Linked DNA regions of Homo sapiens: all the other regions are linked to region 1. Evidence: promoter capture Hi-C in 16 types of primary human blood cells and fetal thymus (Javierre and others, 2016). All regions are on one chromosome and are shown on one strand. The core of a region is centred on a gene start or on the middle of the fragment in contact, and the rest is flanking DNA. Distances in the headings are between cores, read along the strand shown. Region 1 holds the start of LINC01381 (long intergenic non-protein coding RNA 1381). Region 2 overlaps DNAJC27 (DnaJ heat shock protein family (Hsp40) member C27). Region 3 overlaps DNAJC27-AS1 (DNAJC27 antisense RNA 1).

Evidence for each region. The method cuts DNA at HindIII sites, captures the fragments that hold promoters and counts their contacts. A CHiCAGO score of 5 or more calls a contact.
Region 2: a contact is called between a fragment that was not itself captured here and the fragment with the promoter of LINC01381 in region 1, in 1 of 17 cell types (M2 macrophages). The highest score is 5.0, in M2 macrophages.
Region 3: a fragment that was not itself captured here is called in contact with the fragment with the promoter of LINC01381 in region 1 in 8 of 17 cell types (M2 macrophages, M1 macrophages, M0 macrophages and 5 more); the score reaches 13.6 in M2 macrophages.

What each region holds. Positions count from the first base shown.
Region 1 is chr2:25,202,559-25,206,537 of GRCh38, forward strand. It overlaps LINC01381 (long intergenic non-protein coding RNA 1381), which reads left to right and starts at 1,755. Exons shown (of 2, transcript NR_132378.1): 1 at 1,755-1,991. RefSeq lists a silencer at 1,753-2,092. The HindIII fragment of the contact is 10,460 bases long and covers 1-3,979 here.
Region 2 is chr2:24,959,755-24,963,733 of GRCh38, forward strand. DNAJC27 (DnaJ heat shock protein family (Hsp40) member C27) reads right to left here. Exons shown (of 7, transcript NM_016544.3): 3 at 3,651-3,720. Among named protein-coding and RNA genes, the nearest start is that of DNAJC27, 10 kb to the right of the region's middle. The HindIII fragment of the contact is 1,724 bases long and covers 1,311-3,034 here.
Region 3 is chr2:24,978,823-24,982,801 of GRCh38, forward strand. All of the region lies in intron 1 of DNAJC27-AS1 (DNAJC27 antisense RNA 1), which reads left to right. Among named protein-coding and RNA genes, the nearest start is that of DNAJC27-AS1, 8.7 kb to the left of the region's middle. The HindIII fragment of the contact is 8,101 bases long and covers 1-3,979 here.

The DNA of each region.
Region 1 (3,979 bases), core at 505-3,004:
GTGTTCCTTCCTGAGCTGCTGCTCACACAGGTGTGTGGTGGTCAAGTACACGTGGTCTGCTTCTCCACCAGACCCGGAATTCCTCAAAGAAGGGCTATGGCCTTCAACTCTTCAACATATATGTTTGTATATGTATATATATGCAATTGTGGTGGTCACACAACTGTAAACATCAGTCAAAATGCACTGAGTTCAATACTTAAAATTGGGGAATGTCACTGTTTGTGAATTATGCCTCAGTAAAAAGCATGCTTTAGAGTCTCTGGGTGTCCAGGTTCACCAGGCACTTTCACATAGATTATCTCCAGCAGCCCAAACAACAGCCCCATTTCACAGATGGAGAAACTGAGGCCAGTGACTTGCCCACATCCCATAGTGGCAGACCTGGGCCCCTCCTTCAGAGCTTGTTGCTCACAGGATATGGGCCTGAGGGATTTTTTTTTTTTTTTTTTTTTTTTTGAGACAGAGTCTCGCTCTGTTGCCCAGGCTGGAGTGCAGTGGCACGATCTTGGTTCACTGCAACCTCCACCTCCCAGGTTCAAGCTATTCTTGTGCCTCAGCCTCTCCAAGTAGGTGGGATTACAGGTGTGTGCCACCATGCCTGGCTAATTTTTTGTATTAGCCAGGGTTTTGCCATGTTGGGCAGGCTGGTCTTGAACTCCTGGCCTCAAGTGAGGCCTCTCAAAGTGCTGGAAGTACAGGCGTGAGCCACTGTGCCCGGCCCGTGAGGGACTTTTGAGAGGACAGGAGCCAGCCATGGCTGGAATAATCCAATGTACAGAGTCTACCTGGTGCGGCTGTTGCTGTCTTGCCCTCGGGGAGTTCAGCCCCTGTAAGAGAGGTTCAGTGGTTCGGTTCTGCTCAGGGGGTTCCTCAGGCCAGTCTGGGAGACACTGGGTGACACTCACATTCCTGCACCCCCTAGTCCTGGCCCCAGTTCACACAGACCACTCGCTGTCATTGGGTAGGTATTAGGGTTCTGAGTCAGATGTCCTCCAAAGAAGGGGTTCTACCACAAATTGAGTTGCCAGATTTAGCAAATAAAAATACAGGCCAGGCCAGGAGTGGTGGCTCATGCCTGGAATCCCAGCACTTTGGGAGACCAAGGCAGGAGAATCACTTGAGCCCAGGAGTTCGAGACCAGCTTGGGCAAAATAGCGAGACGCCCCCCAGCTCTACAAAAAATACAAACATTAGCTGAGTGTAGTGGTGTACATCTATTCTGGAGGCTGAGGCAGGAAGATCTCTTGAGTCCAGGAGTTGGAGGCTGCAGTGAACTATGATTGTGCCACTGCACCCCAGCCTGGGCAACAAAGCAAGTCCTTGTCGCAAAAAACAAACAAACAAACAAACAAAAAACCAGGACAAAACGTTGGAGACATTCTGATACTAAATAGGACATCCTAAACAGGATAGATGTATACTAAAAATGTATCTGTTGCTTATCTGAAATTTGAATTTAACTGGACCTCCTACATTTAACCTGGCAATCCAAACTGAAAAAAAAAACCACCTAAAATTAAAATTAAATTAACAAAATTTAAATTTAATGAAATTAATAAAATTTAAAACAAAACTAAAATGAAAGAAAAAGTAAAATAAAAAAAATTTTTTAAATGAGTTAAATTAAATGAAACGAGAATAAAATCCCAAAAGAGGTGAACACTGCACAAGCGCGCACGCCTGCGCCGAGCGCCCGTGGCCCAGCAAGATGGCGAGGCCGCGCCTTCCCCACCCAGGCGTGGGGTCCTCGGGCCTCTGCGCGGCGCTCGCCCGGGACTGGGACGCAGAGCCGCGGACGGCTTTGGGGACGCCAGGGCTCCGGACTTCCCCGGCGGCGCCTCACGGGCGGCAATCGCCCGCGAGCCTTGGGGCGCGGCACCCAGGGCCTCCCCACCGGGCTCCGAGGGACGCAGCGGCCTCGCCACCGCATTAGGCCGAATCCGGTGCCTTCTAGAAATGGCCTCCTGCAGCTCCAGAGCGCCTGCAGGGTGAGCAGAGGCTGCTCTGTTTTCAAGAAAGCCGCGCGCCCTCATGGCCCCGCAGGGCCCCTCACGGCCTCTGCTGCTCTGGGGAGAAGGTAGCCGGCGCCACCGAGTCCCAGGAGGTCCCCGGACGCCCGCCCGGGCCCCGTGGGAGGGTGACGCCCGTGACAGCTCCTCTAGCTGCACTCTGCTGCCTCTGTCATTCTGCCACTCAAATCTCTGGCCTGACACTGTGCAGGCGGAAACAAGTGGGGGGCCCCTAGGTTTTCCCCCACAAATCTGAATGCTGAAAGGCGCGCCAGAGAACTTTTGCTCACTTGGGGAAAAGCCGATCTGTACCTTAGAAAGGGCAATAATAAGGATATAATATTAAATTAATAATACCTAATACAGTCATAAAGGTCCAGAACCTTATGCCCAGGCACCCCACTCCCTGGGAATGTATCCTAATGAAATAATTCAAAGGAATAACCGTGCCCTAGGCATAATCATGTTCATTATGGCATTATTAGTGTGAGCTAAAAATTGAAAACAACCTCGCCACCTAGCAAGGGAGAATGGTTAAGGGAACGGTTTTACACCCACTAGATGGAATGCCGTGTAGCCAGTAAGTGATTATTGCAAGGTCTGTAGAAACACGGGGAAATGTTTATAATGTAATCTTAATGAAAAATGGTTTAACATGAAATGGTAAATTCTCATGGATCTCAACTCCTTCAGAATTGCTTTTTCTTTTAATCGAAAATGTTATATAGATACTTGCAGATTCACATGCAGTTATAAGAAAATATAGGCCGGGCGCGGTGGCTCACGCCTGTAATCCCAACACTTTGAGAGGCCGAGGCGGGCAGATCATGAGGTCAAGAGATTGAGACCATCCTGGCCAACATGGTGAAACTCCGTCTTTACTAAAAATACAACAATTAGCCGGGCATGTGGCATGTGCCTGTAGTCCCAGCTACTCGAGAGGCTGAGGCAGGAGAATCGCTTGAACCCGGGAGGCAGAAGTTACAGTGAGCCAAGATCGGGCCGCGGCACTCCAGCCTGGTGACAGAGTGAGACTCCGTCTCAAGAAAAAAAAAAAAAAAAAGAAATGATACAGAGATCCCACCTCTACCCAGTTTTCCCCAATGGTAACATCTTGCAGAACTATAGTACAATATCACAACCAGCATATTGACAGGGATGTAACCTGCTGATCTAATGCAGATTTCCCAAATGTTACTTATACTTGTGTGTTTTGTTCTATACAGTGTTATCACAATTGTAAATTACAATTTTACTAGAGCTGGGTTTTTTTTTCTTTTTCTTTTTTTCTTTTGAGACAGAGTTTCACTCTTGTTGCCCAGGCTGGAGTGCAATGGTGCGCTCTCGGCTCACTGCAACCCCCACCTCCCGGGTTCAAGCAATTCTCCTGCCTCAGCCTCCTAAGTAGCTGGGATTATAGGCGTGTGCCACCACACCTGGCTAATTTTGTATTTTTAGTAGAGACAGGGTTTCACCATGTTGGCCAGGCTGGTCTCAAACTCCTGACCTCAGGTGATCTACCCACCTCGGCCTCCCAAAGTATTGGGATTACAGGCGTGAGCCACCACTCCCGGCCTAGAGCTGTTTTTTAAAGCACACGTGTGCATATGTAGAAATGTGTTATATAAATGGTGGTATTTGAAAGATTTTCTTTTCTTTTCTTTCTTTTTTTTTTTTTTTTGAGACACAGTCTCGCTCTGTCGCCCAGGCTGGAGTGCAGTGGCACAATCTCGGCTTACTGCAAGCTCCGCCTCCCGGGTTCACGCCATTCTCCTGCCTCAGCCTCCCAAGTAGCTGGGACTACAGGCACCCGCCACCACGCCCGGCTATTTTTTTTAATTTTTTTTAGTAGCAATAGGGTTGCACCGTGTTAGCCAGGATGGTCTCGATCTCCTGACCTCGTGATCCACCTGCCTCGGCCTCCTAAAGTGCTGGGATTACAGGCGTGAGCCACTGTGCCCAGCCGA
Region 2 (3,979 bases), core at 923-3,422, 240 kb before region 1:
CCATTCCTCACCATCCAGCCCCCTACTCCTGCAAAACAGAATGTAATCTCTATGTCCCCTGGAGTACCATACTGTTTTGTACTTTCATAGTGCCATCACTTCCTGCCCAGTTTTACAGTTAGTAGCATATCCAGCTGTCTTCCCTCCTACACTAGAAGAAATGTGAAGACATGCATCATCTTCATGTATCCTCCCTTGTGTCACCCACAGGGCCTAGCAGATGCAGGCACACCTCACTTTATTGCACCTATGTAAGGCACATAGGCACACCTCACTTTATTGCACAGTATGTACATATTGTGTTTTTTTACAAAGTGAAGATCTGTGGCAACCCTAAGTCAAGCAAGTCTATTGATGCCATTTTTCCACAGTGTGTGTTCACTTTATGTGTGTGTCACATTTTGGTAACACTTATAATACTTCAAACTTTTCATCATTATTATGTCTGTTACGATCATCTGTGATCAGTGATATCTGTTACTATTTTAAGTGTTTTGGGATACCATGAACATATAAGGTCATTTAAGACAGCAAACTTAATAAATGTTGTCTATATTCTGACTGTTCCACCAAATGGCTGTTGCCCCATCTCTCTCCCACTCCTGGAGCCTTCCTCTTCCCTGAGACAAAACAATATTGAAAGTAGGCCAATTAATAACAATACAACGGCCTCTAAGTGTTCAAGTAAAAGGAAGAGTCATGTATCTCTCATTTTAAATCAAAACCTTTAAATGATTAAGCTTAGTGAGGAAGGCATTTCAAAAACAGATAGGCCAAAAGCTGGGCCTTTTGTACCAAACAGCTAGCCAAGTTATGAATGCAAAGGAAAACTTCTTGAATGAAATTAAAAATGCTAATCTAGTGAACACATGAATGCTAAGAAAGTGAGACAGCATATTGCTGATATGGAGAAAGCGTTAGTGGTCTGGATAGAAGTCCAAACCAGCCACAACCTTCTCTTAAGCCAAAACCTAATGCACAGCAAGTCTCTAACTCTCTTCATTTCCATGAAGGCTGAGAGAGATGAGGAAGCTGCAGAGGAAAAGTCAGAAGCTAGCAGTTGTTGGTTCATGAGGTTTAGGGAAAGAAGCCATCTTCGTAACATAAAAGGGCAACATGAAGCAGCACATGCTGATGTAGTGCTGCAAGTTATTCAAAATATCTAGCTAAGATCATTGATGAAGGTGGCTAATCAAAGCAACAGATTTTCAATGCAGATGAAACAGGCTTGGAATAGATAGATCTAATGGAAGAAGATGATATCTAGGACTTTCAAGGCTAGAGAGGAAAAGTCGATGCCTGGCTTCAAAAGCTTCAAAGGACAGGCTGACTCTCTTGTTACGGGCTGACAGAGCTGTTACGGGCTATATGAGCTGATGCTCATTTGCCATAATGAAAATCCTAGGGCCCTTAAGAATTATGCTAAATCTACTCTGCCTGTGCTCTATAAATGGAACAGCAAGGTCTGGATGACAGCAGATCTGTTTAAGCATAGTTTACTGAATATTTTAAGCCCACTACTGAGACCTACTACTCAGAAAAAAGGATTCCTTTCAAAATATTACTGCTCATTCACAATGCACCTAATTACCCAAGAGTTCTGATGGAGAAATACGAAGAGATTAAAGCTGTTTTTATTATGCCTGCTAACACAACATCCATTCTGCAACCCATGGATCAAGGAATAATTTTGACTTTGAAGTCTTACTGTTTAAAAAATACATTTTGCAAGGCTACAGCTGCCATAGTGATTACTCTAGGCAAAGCAAATTGAAAACCTTGTAGAAAGCATTCGCCATTCTAGATGCCATTAAGAACATTCGTGATTCAGGGGAGAGGTCAAAGTATCAACCTTAACAAGAGTTTGGAAGTTGATTCCAACCCTTACAGATAACTCTGTGGGAGTTCAAGACATCAGTGGAGGAAGTAACTGCAGATGTGGTGGAAATAGGAAGAGAACTAGAATTAGAAGTAGGGCCTGAAGATGTGACTGAATTACTGCAGTCTCACGATAAAAAATAAATAAGGAGTTGCTTCATATCAATGAGCAAAGAAAGTGGTTTCTTGAGATGGAATCTACTCCTAGTGAAGATGCTATGAACATTCTTGAAATGACAAGCAAGAATTTAGAGTATTACATAAACTTAGTTGATAAGGCAGCAGCAGAGTTTAACTGAATTGACTCCAATTTTGAATGAAGTTCTAATGTGGGTGAAAATGCTGTCAAATAGCATTGCATGGTACAGAGAAATCTTTCATGAAAGGAAGAGTCAATCAATGTGCCAAACTTTATTGTTGTCTTATTTTAAGAAACTGCCACATCAACCACCACCCTCATCAGTCAGCAGCCATCATCACCGAGGCAGCCTCTGATCACAATGGAATCAAACTAGAAATCAGTAACAGAAGGATTAACAGGAAAATCTCCTAACACTTGGAAACTAAACAACATACTTTTTTTCTTTTGTTTTTTTTTGTGTTTTTTGTTTGTTTGTTTGTTTTTGAATAACACACTCTCTTTTTTGAGATGGAGTTTCACTCTTTCACCCAGGCTGGAGTGAAGTGGCACGATTTTGGATCCCTGCAACCTCCGCCTGTTCAAGCGATTCTCCTACCTCAGCCTCCCAGGAAGCTGGGATTACAGGGATGTGCCACCACACCCGGCTGATTTTTGTGTTTTTAGTAGAGACAGGGTTTCCCCATGTTGGCCAGGCTGGTCTCGAATTCCTGACCTCAGGTGATCCACCCTTCTCGGCCTCCCAAAGTGCTGGGATTACAGACGTGAGCTACTGCTCCCGGCCTGAATAACACACTTCTAAATAACTCATACATCAAACAGAAAGTCTCAAGGGAAATTAAAGAAATACATTGAACTGAATGAAAATGAAAATACAACATCTCAGAATTTGTGGGACACACAGTTGTGCTGAGAGGGAAATATGTAGCATTAAATGAATTTATTAAAAAAGGAAAAAGTCTCAAATCAATAATCTAAGATCCCACCTCAAGAATCTAAAACAAAAAGAGCAAAATAAGCTTAAAGCAAGCAGAGAGAAGGAAATGATAAAGATTAAGGCAGAAGTGAAACGGCCAAACCAGAAAAGAGCAAAAAACCTCCTTAAGAAAAATGAAAAAGCCCAAGGAAGGAAAAACAAAAGAGAATGGTCATGAGATTCATTTGGTGATTACTTAGAGCTGGTAAGCAGATGAAAATAAATCAAGTAGTTGCTTTAGCTTCTTCTCTGGAAAGAATGCAGATGACTAGGCATGAATAGGAACGATCACCCCAGTACCCTGCTGTGAAAGAAGTCGCATCACTGAGTTCTTAAGCCCAAGCATAAATGTAATTATTTTTTTTTTCACATTTTAGGCTAAAGTATGAGGTAAAAAGCAAAAGTCCTCTGAAAGTCAAAATGTCTTATTGAAATGTTTGAAATATTGGCAATGAAATTTCCTACCACTATTTAACAGGATAACCTAAAAGATCAACAGTTGTCTATTAACTCAAGGCTCTGAAGGCAAGCCACGATCAAGCTAAAATTATGCAATTTTACACATGATATCAATATTGGTTGTTTCATATAATTCTGGATCTCTCCCCAAACCACCAACAATACTGGATATAGGTTTTGTCAAAAAGGCTTTCTTACCTCATAGAAGAAGGGATGTCCAGCCATATCAAAGATGTTAACTTTGATTTCTCTGTCTCTGACGTGTACCCTGAAATGTTCAAATGGAAACAATCCGAAAGAAAGTCATGGTTTCTCCATTTACCTTAATATCATTTATAAATTTCAAAAGGATATGTGTATGCAATTTAAGAAGCTTTCTTAGTGCCTCTTCCTCATTCCAGATCATCTTTACAATAGCAGTCAGCAACCTGACAGATGATCCTGCCTTCTTATCCCAAGAACACTGAACCCACATGGAGTAGGCATTCTCAATTACTTCACTTTCACCTTCACTTCTAGAAACTTTG
Region 3 (3,979 bases), core at 950-3,449, 220 kb before region 1:
AACATAGTGAGACCTTGTCTCTATAAAAATAAAGACTCAGGCAGGAGAATCACTTGAGCCCAGGAGTTCAAGGTTACAGTGAACTATGATCTCACTGCTGCACTCCAGCCTGGGTGACAGACCAAGACCTTGTCCCTCAAAATCCCACCAACACACACATAGTTGACAGTTTTAAAAAATGTTTCTATGCTCTGGAATAATTTATCTGACAAAATTTATTTTTTATTTTTTTTTCAGAGACGGGGCTTCGCCATCTTTCCCAGGCTGGTCTCAAACTCCTGAGCTCAAGTGACCCTCCTGCCTTGGCCTCCCAGAGTGCTGGGATTACAGGCATGAGCAATGGTGCCTGGCCCAAAATTCATACATTAGCAAAAGTAGGGAGAATAAAGTAATGAACACTCATTTTCCACCTTCAGCAATATCAACGTGGATCAATCTTGTTTCATCTATACCCCAGATTATTTTGGGGCAAACTATAAATATAGTTATACTATAACTATCCATATCTTATTATGTACTTTAGAAGGTGAAGCTCTTAAAATACAGACATAAATGAAATCTAACTGGCATACTGTGGTAAGCCGAATTCTAAGATGGCCTCTAAGATTCCTGGCCCCTGGTACACACATACCTTTTCCCAGTTAGTTAATCAAACATGAATTTGGGTGCTGCTACAAAGGGATTTTGGTAATTAAGTTCCCAGATCAGTTGTTTTTACGCTGAAGATATTATCCTCCATGGGCCTGACCCAATCAGATGAGTCCTTAAGTAGGATAGGGCTTTTCCTGGCAAAAGATATTAAAAATGTGAGAAGCATTCAATAGGAGGAAGGTTCTCCAGGATGGAAGGGGATACTTAGCAAGGACCTAAGAGTGGCCTCTTGGAGCTAAGAGTAACCCCCAGCCAACAGCAAGAAAATGAGCAGCTCAGTCCTACAACCAGAAGTAACTGAATTCTGCCAAAAACCTGAATGAGCCTGGAAGGAGCTCCTGAGCTCTGATGAGAACCCAGCTGTCTGCTACCTTCATTGCAGCCTTGTGAGACTTTTTTTTTCTGAGACAGGGTCTCGCTCTGTTGCCCAGGCTGGAGTGCAGTGGCACGATGTCAGCTCATTGCAGCCTCTGGCTCCCAGGTTCAAGTGATTCTCCTGCCTCAGTCTCCCGAGTAGCTGGGATTACAGGCGCCTGTCACCACACCCGGCTAATTTTGTATTTTTAGTAGAGATGGGGTTTCACCACGTTGGCCAGGATGGTCTCGAACTCCTGATCTCAAGCGATCTGCCCACCTCAGCCTCCCAAAGTGCTGGGATTACAGGCGTGAACCACTGCACCCAGCCTACTTTTTTTTTTTTTTTGAGATAGGCTCTCTCTGTTGCCCAGGCTGGAATGCAGTGGCACAATCATAACTCACTGCAGCCTTGACCTCCTGGGCTCAAGTGATCCTCCTATCTCAGTCTTCCGAGTAGCTGCGACTACAGGTCTGTAGCACCATGCCTGGCTAGTTATTTTTTGTAGAGGCAAGCTCTCACTATGTTGCCCAGGCTAGTCTTAAATTCCTCGCCTCGAATGAGCCTCCCACCACAGCCTCCCAAAATGCTGGGATTACAGGCCTGAGCCACCATCCTGGCCCCTTGTGAGATTTCTGGGCTAGAGAACCCAGCCTCTGTATGCCTTATCATCTGACCTACAGGACTGCAAGATGTTTAATGTCTGTTGTTTGAAACTGTTGAATTTGCAGTAATTTGTTATGCAGCAATAGAAAACTAATATACATACTGAAAAGTTGGTAGTAATTCCTCTCAGTGACCAAGTTTTTGTGGGAAAGTTTTTAACTACAAATTCAATTTTTTAAGGAGTTCTGCTTCCAGTATGGTAGTGTAAACCCTTTCAGATAATTCTCCCACTGATTAAAAAACAATAACAGGGCTGGGCGTGGTAGCTCATGCCTGTAATTCCAGCACTTTGGGAGGCCAAGGCAGGCAGATCACTTGAGGCCAGGAGTTCGAGACCAGCCTGCACAACATGACAAAACCCCATCTGTACTAAAAATACAAAAATCAGCTGGGTTTGATGGTACACACCTGTACTCCTAGCGACTTGGGAGGCTGAGGTGGGAGGATTGGTTGAATCCAAGAGCCAGAGATTGCAATGAGCCGAGATCATGCCATCACACTCCAATCTGGGTAACACAGTGAGACTCTTCCTCAAGAAAGAAAAAAAGAGAGAGAGAAGAAGGAGGGGGAGGGGGGAGAGGGAGGGAGGGAGGGAAGAGAGGAAAGGAAGGAAAAAACTACTGGGAGATTCTGAAGAGTAACAGAAACCAGGCAAATGGTAGAGGGGAGTGGAAATCTTGGAGAAGCACCTGGCATGGGGATGAGTCTCTCCTAAGCAATGTAAGAACCTTAGAACCCTGACTCTGCTGAGCCTTCCGACCTTCCTTATTAGGGGTAGAGGGTCTTAGTTTGGAGTCTGTGAGCATGGATATTGTGCTTCCATGTTCATATCCATGTATTCATCCTACTACAGACTATCCCAAAAAGTGTGTGGGAGTTCGTATTTTCCAAAAATGGCTGTGACAACATTTCCCATTCCATATGACCTTTTTTTATATAGTGGCAAAATACACATAACATAAAATGTATCATTTTAACCATTTAAAAATGTACAGCTCAGTGGCATTAAGCACATTCACATTGTGCAACCATCACTGCCATCTTTCCCAGAACTTTTTCATCTTCCCAAACTGACATTCCATACCACTGAGCACTAACTCTCCATTCTCTCCTCCCCCCAGCCCATGGGACCCATCATTCTACTTTTGTCTCTATTAATTTGAGTACTTCAGGCACCTCATACGAGTAGAATGGCTGGCTTACTTCACTTAGCATAATGTCTTCAAGGTTCCCATATGAAATTCTTACAGTAGGATTGAGACTCCTCTCCATAGGTCTATGTTCCTCTCCTTTGAATCTGGGTGGAATTGTAACTATGGTGTTAGTGACGTTATGCCACCTCCAAAACTAAGTCATAAAAGGCAATGCAATTTCCTTCTGGTTCTCTTGGAATGCTCACTTTTGGAATCTAGCCACCAAACTGTGAAGATTCCAGCTCTTCATGGAGAGGACCATGGAGAGAGAAACGAGCTCCCCACTCACACCCACAACCACAGCTGAGCTCCCATATGACAATCAGCACCAACTTGCCAGCTATGGGATTGAGCCATCTTGAAAGTGCCAAGACAATGAAGCAAAGATGCCAACAAGCAGTGGAATGTAGCAATAAGGAACACATAACAAGTGATATTCAGTAATATGGACAGGTAGAAAATTGTCATTAACCCCGCCAAGAAATTTGAGCTCAGAGCAAGCTGCCAATTTCTTGGGAGATATCCTGGGGTACCTAGCAGATTACTAGTAGTGCTCAAATGCTATCTTCCTTCTGTTCTTTGAATGCCAAGTTCACTTGCAGCTCATGGCCTTTGTATATAGACCTCTGCCTAAAACACCCTTCTCTAGATCTTGAGACTCTCCAGCCATACTGCTCTGGCTCCTCATAGAGAGGAGATTTTGGCACAAACCAGTGTTTCCACCTACGTATCTAATTGCAGTTAATGGCACCCAATTGCCTAATAAAAATGTAGGGAAAGGAAGGGAAAGGTAAGGAAGGGTAGCAGAGGGAAGGGGAGGGGAGGGAAGGAGAGGGAGAAGGGAAAGGAAAGAAAAGAAAGGAGGGAAATCTTTAGAGCTATGGCACAGGGCTCTACTTTTTAACCCAGCTCTCTTTAATAATTTGGGTAAATATACAGGAGAGATATATTAAAAAGTTGTGGATTGGCTGGGTGCGATGGCTCACACCTGTAATCCTAGCACTTTGGGAGGCTGAGGTTGGTGTATTGCTTGAGGTCAGGAGTTCAAGACCAGCCTGGGCAACATAATGAGACAATCACCAAAAAATACAAAAATTATCTGAGTGTGGTGGCA